Linked DNA regions of Homo sapiens: region 2 is linked to region 1. Evidence: promoter capture Hi-C in 16 types of primary human blood cells and fetal thymus (Javierre and others, 2016). All regions are on one chromosome and are shown on one strand. Each heading gives the region's core, a stretch centred on a gene start or on the middle of the fragment in contact. The rest is flanking DNA. Distances are from core to core; before and after follow the strand shown. Region 1 holds the start of IL1RL2 (interleukin 1 receptor like 2). Region 2 overlaps IL1RL2 (interleukin 1 receptor like 2).

Region 1 (2,765 bases), core at 181-2,680:
CCGCGCCCGGCTAATTTTTTTAATGTATTTTTAGTAGAGACGGGGTTTCACCGTGTTAGCCAGGATGGTCTAGATCTCCTGACCTCGTGATCCGCCCGCCTTGGCCTCCCAAAGTACTGGGATTACAGGCATGAGCCACTGCGCCCGGCCATACCAAATTTCTTAGAAGAAATTTGTTCTATTGACGGTTTCCTTGCTTTCACCTTGTGTCATAAAATAACGCTTTATCTTATAAAATAGCCTGTAGTAATTCCATTTGAGCATTGTTACTCAAGTCTTCACTTGGAATTTGCCTAACTCCTTCCCCTCCCCGAAGTCACCTCCAAGCTCAAAGGCGACATTCAGGGCTGAGCATCCGAGCACGTGGAGCTGGTTCTCTGTTTCCTCTTCCGCGGAACTCCGCCTGGCGGTCTGGGGAGGGGAAGGAGCCGCGCTCGGGCTGACGCGATCCCCGGGGGCTCCCAATGACAGGCCAGGAGCCTGTGGACTCGGGCAGCCTCTGGGAACGGAGGACACACGGAACGTACCTGCTGTGACAGACAGTGGAAGGGCGATGGACAACCCGCAGAGCAGCAAGGACCACATCCCCAAACCGGGCTGCAAGGAAGGGAGAAGAGGGTGGGAGGGGAGGACGCAGTAGGGCGGGCCCGAGGCGCCGGCGTGGGCGACCTCGGAATCTCAAAGACAACCGCCCAGGCCGCTGACCTTCCCTTTTTCCTGGGGAGCCCTCCGACTTTGGCCCCACGTTTCCCCAAAGACTGCCCTTCCCCTGTCTCCTTCGTCTGGGCGCCCGACCAGGATCCAGGGCAGGGAGCTCGCCCCGCCGCAGAGGAGGATGGGCGAGGAGTAGGCGGCGGCGGCGGTGGGGACCGCGTGGGAGCTGCTTCTGCCACCTGACAGCGAAGCAGGCTGGTGTCCAGAGCCCCCGTGAGGGCCAGGGCGCCCCCCAGCGCAGCCTGCGGCCTGGGTTCCAGACGTGGGACCCCAACCCCGCTCGCGGCGCACGGAGCCTCCCCTGCGCGCCTGTGTCCTCGGGATCCACCCGAGCCTGGCGGTCTAAACAGAAACCCCAAACACCCGCTCACTGGGGAGCAGCCAGGGCAGGCCTACCTGGCAAGGGCCAGCGGGAAAGGAGAAAGGAAGGCAGGGAGCCGCTGGAGCTGAAAATAGCCGCGAGCTCCACTCCTCGACCCAGAGACGGAGTCGGCTCCCCCATGGTCACCTAGCCGGTCGGGGGCCGGCCTGGGGGGCCTGATCCCTGGCCTGCGGTGGCACACATTGTTGCCACGTCTTTTCCTGCACACCTCTCCTACTGTCAGGGCCCCACCCATGCCTGGCTCAGCCAGACTCCCGGCCCGGTGTCTACCTGCCTGCAGGATTGAAGCGCGCAGGACCTCGTGGAGAGTGGAAAATATGACAGGGACACGAGCCCTGTCATGCCACTTCCATGCCTAGGTATTTCCCCGCCACCGTGGGCGGGGCAGACCTGCCTTCCCCAGTGGAGCGTAGGAAGGAATGTGACATCACACTAGGAAGTGGCTTGAAAGTCTTTGAGCCTGATTTTCTGGCATCTAAGTCCTTCATCACCAGGAGTGTCTGCTTAAGTCTATTCCAAGTTGAACGTCTAAATGAATTATTCATTCCTTTCCAAATCCTATTTGAGCAGTTACTGCATGCTCTGCATTGGCCTATGTGGAATGACCCCAAAGTGGAAGCCATCCCAAATGGCTTCTAAGGAGAATTATGAATCTGCCTGAGTCGTGCTCATTAACTTCTGTAAGGCAGGAATCCCATGGTGTTCAAGTACTTCAGAGCCTGAAGACTGTTCCTGTCTAAAACTTCCCGATAAGGTGATGTCAACAGGGACCTGTTGCCCTAGCCATCAGGAGACACCCCAGAGTCATCCCACAGGGCACTGAGTTGTAGGAAAAGGTTCAAAATGTAATCTCCATTCAATAGATTACTGGTCAAGCTCTTCCCAACGGTCTTTGAAAGATCAGAGACAGTGAGACAAAAGCAACCATAGGAGCAGAGATGCAATAATTGTGCTAATAGCAAAGCTTCCTGTGATAGGCTGAAGGTCAGTGGTTTGTAGATTTCTACACTCTTAAAAAGTATTGAGGATTCCAAAGTGCTTTTGTCTATGTAGGTTATGCCTGTCAATATTACTACATTAGAAGTTAAAGGGAGAATTTTTAAACGTTTACTTTCTTATTTAAGTGACAATAAACCCATTACATGTTAACGCAAATATCATACAATTTATGAAAAATAACTCTACTTTCTAAAACAGGCTTATTGAGAAAAGCGGCATTGTTCTACATAGATGCAGATCTCTTTGATGTCTGGCTTACTAGAAGATGACTGGATTCTCATACTTGCTTCTGCAATCAGTGTCATGATATAATATGTCATATAGCTTCTGAAAAGGTCCACCATACACTAATGAGAGAATGAGAATAAAAAAGGAATATAAGGTCTTAATATTACGATGAACATAGTTTTGATTTCACAGATCTTTTTGAAGGGTCTCTCAGGGACCCATAGGGCTCCCACTCTTTGAGGACCTCTTTCTTAAGCTATAAATAGAGATTATTATTTATTTCCCCTACTATCAGCAGTAAACGAGGTTCCTCTGTATATGTATATTCTTCAGCGTTTATGTCCTCATCCAAAACAAAACAAAAGTGTTACTATTTTTATAAAAGTCATATGATTTGCATTCAGAATTATTTCTATGAGCAGTGTTGAAAGGTATTTCTAAA
Region 2 (2,765 bases), core at 152-2,651, 52 kb before region 1:
TCAAATGAGAATAAAATTTATTTCACAAATTACTGATATTTTTAACATTTACAGTTTAATTGTTCATTGTGGAAAAACAGAGAAAAGGGCATACGCTGTCCAAGCACAGGCTTCCATGTGGGCTCAGCCCACCATGACATGGGGATGAATCCCAACTCTCACCCACCATGACAGGTGATCCCCCCAGCTCTCACCCACCATGACAGGTGATCCCCCAAGATCTCACCCACCATGACATGGTGATTCCCCCAGCTCTCATCCACCATGACGTGGGGATACCCCCCAGATCTCGCCCACCATGACATGGGGATGCTCCCAGCTCTCACCCACCATGATGTAGGGATACCCCCAGCTCTCACCCACTATGACCATGTGGATGACCACCCGCCCTCACCCACCATGACACAGGGATACCCCCAGATCTCACCCACCATGACATGGGGATGCTCCGAGCTCTCACCCACCATGACTTGGGGATGCCTCCCCCGACCAGCCCTCACCCTCCATGACCATGGGGATAACCCCCAGCTCTCACCCTCCATGACCACGGGGATGGCCCCAGCTCTCACCCACCATGACATGGGGATGGCCCCAGTTCTTATCCCATCCTCCTCTTCTCTACGCCTGAGCTCAACTGGGTGTCTAGAATGCTAACCCTAGCCTCATCCTGCAGCAGAAAATAGGTGTAGGAATGAGGAGACATGGAGCAAAACAAGTCATCTTCCAGCCATAGGTGTCAGTCCAGCAAGTCTTAGCCAGTCGTGAGAGTACACTTCTTTCTTCTTGAGCCTAGTTCTGGGCCTGAAATCAGGAAAGATCTATTTACTCCTTTTCTGATGTGGTGGGAGATGGGGGCTGATAAGGAAACCTGCCATGGGAATGCGAAAACCTCCACCTTGCCGTCAGTTCATCTGGTGGTATATCCCTGAGGCTTCCATTTCTCTTGGGTTATCTTTGCAAGGTGGTTATGCCAGAGGATCACAGGTGAGCAGTGTCAACTCTCACCTTTCCTATAAGAGCCCCAGAGGAAAGGTGAATTTGGATGACAAGAGCCAGGGCTCTGAGGTCCTTCTCAAGTGGAGAGCTCCTCTCCAGGGACAGCCTGGGAGATGAGGGTGGAATTGTATTAGTGAACAGCAGCATTTCTCAGAAGTTCCTGGGTGTATGGGAGGGGACATCCACACACAGAGTTCCCATCTCCCAGAATAATATTACTACTGGAGATGTGTGGCCTCTAACATTCAGACCCAGCAGCCACCACTCCTAAAGCCAGCATCACCCTCTGTAGCTCACTCCAGACCTCATCTGGAACAGCCTCTGTTCTTCAAGGAAACCAGGAAGGAATTTTCCACTTTACACAGCCCCAGATCAATACCAAACAAGCATGTGTTAGAGGGAAGTTTATAAATAAAAAACAGGACCAAGTGCCGAGGAAAGGTCAACCAACCATGACGTGGCAGGAAGTGGTCTGCGTCACTATGGGGTGCTGATGGGTGTGGGGGGCCCTGGGGACTGAGGCTCCCTGAGCACATTCCATATTTTGGCAGGCCAGCTCCTCATGGCATCCCACGGTTTGCCAAGCACTTTTCACATGTATATCTTCATCTTGCTTGGTCCTCCGGGGAAAGACCACACCTTCCCGGTCCCTTTATTTAATGTGACTGGGTCTTTCCCAGGGCCTCTCTCATGAGCCGACTCAGGGTATTTGAGGGGAGATACCAAAGGTAGTGGGTTTTGTGGCTGACTCAGTCATTATGGGAAGGTGAATGTAAAGGTAACCCAGCGACTCAGCACCTGTATTTCACCTCTCTGGTCCAATCTCCGCTCGCAGCCCTACCTCCAGGTCAGTCCCTGGGGATTCCCAGGGGGGTCTCTAATTCCCTCAAGCCAGGGTCTTGGAAAGGAGTGATGAGGGTTTACAGCTAATTCATAGTATTAAAAAACTTTGTGAATCATTAAATTATAAATTGGCCTGTGATGAAGGCACACTGGCTCCTTGGAAACTGACTTCACTTTGCTTGGAGTAGAATTCTGGAGCCCACCCCCAAGGGCTAGGGATAGGACCCCATTGACCTCATATTTGCGCCAAGCCCAGCTGGAGAAACGGGAGAGAATTGAGGGTGGCCTTCAGCGTTCCCATAAACTACCTTTTTGTCCCTTAGCCGTTGAACTCTTAAACCTCCTTTCTTATACAAATTTGGACTTGAGACCATGAGCGGAGCTGTTACCTGCCAACCTGCCTACATGTCAGCGGTGATGCCAGGCTACTTCAATTATTTGTATTCTTGCTGCATTGCATCCCTATTATTTCATTAGGAATTAGTAGAACTTTAAAAAGTTTCTTTGCATCTCGATTTCTCTCTCCAACATGAGAGTCGTTATTCCTCATGGAGGATTCGCTAGTTTAATTAAAACAGGCTGTTTCTCCTATTGCACCCAAGAGGAAAATGGGCATTACTGATCTGTTCCGCACTCTGTCCCCTCACTCGCTGCCGTTCTCTTCTCTGGGCTGGTCTCTGAAGGCTGCCTGCAGTGCTGGAGTGGGCAGGGTGGCTGCGGGCTGGCTGAGGACGCTTCGTCCTTCCTTCTGCGGAGTGCATGTGAGACCAGGCCACGCCAGGAAACCCCCTGAGGGCAGTGGGCACCACCTCTGGCCACTTGACTAACCCCGGGGCAGTAAGATCTGGACCGCAAAGGGTGAGTGGTCACTGGCTCGTGGTTTGGTGAGGATTTGGGGAATACACCCACCCCATTCAGATTTGAGG

What was found. The method cuts DNA at HindIII sites, captures the fragments that hold promoters and counts their contacts. A CHiCAGO score of 5 or more calls a contact.
Region 2: a contact is called between a fragment that was not itself captured here and the fragment with the promoter of IL1RL2 in region 1, in 1 of 17 cell types (M2 macrophages). The highest score is 5.4, in M2 macrophages.

The regions. Positions count from the first base shown.
Region 1 is chr2:102,185,688-102,188,452 of GRCh38, reverse strand. IL1RL2 (interleukin 1 receptor like 2) reads right to left here and starts at 1,430. Exons shown (of 12, transcript NM_003854.4): 1 at 1,367-1,430; 2 at 528-597. The coding sequence starts at 585. RefSeq lists an enhancer at 1,245-1,774. The HindIII fragment of the contact is 3,870 bases long and covers 1-2,062 here.
Region 2 is chr2:102,237,228-102,239,992 of GRCh38, reverse strand. IL1RL2 (interleukin 1 receptor like 2) reads right to left here. Exons shown (of 12, transcript NM_003854.4): 12 at 1-801. The coding sequence ends at 752. Among named protein-coding and RNA genes, the nearest start is that of IL1RL2, 52 kb to the right of the region's middle. RefSeq lists an enhancer at 1,079-2,278. The HindIII fragment of the contact is 3,382 bases long and covers 1-2,765 here.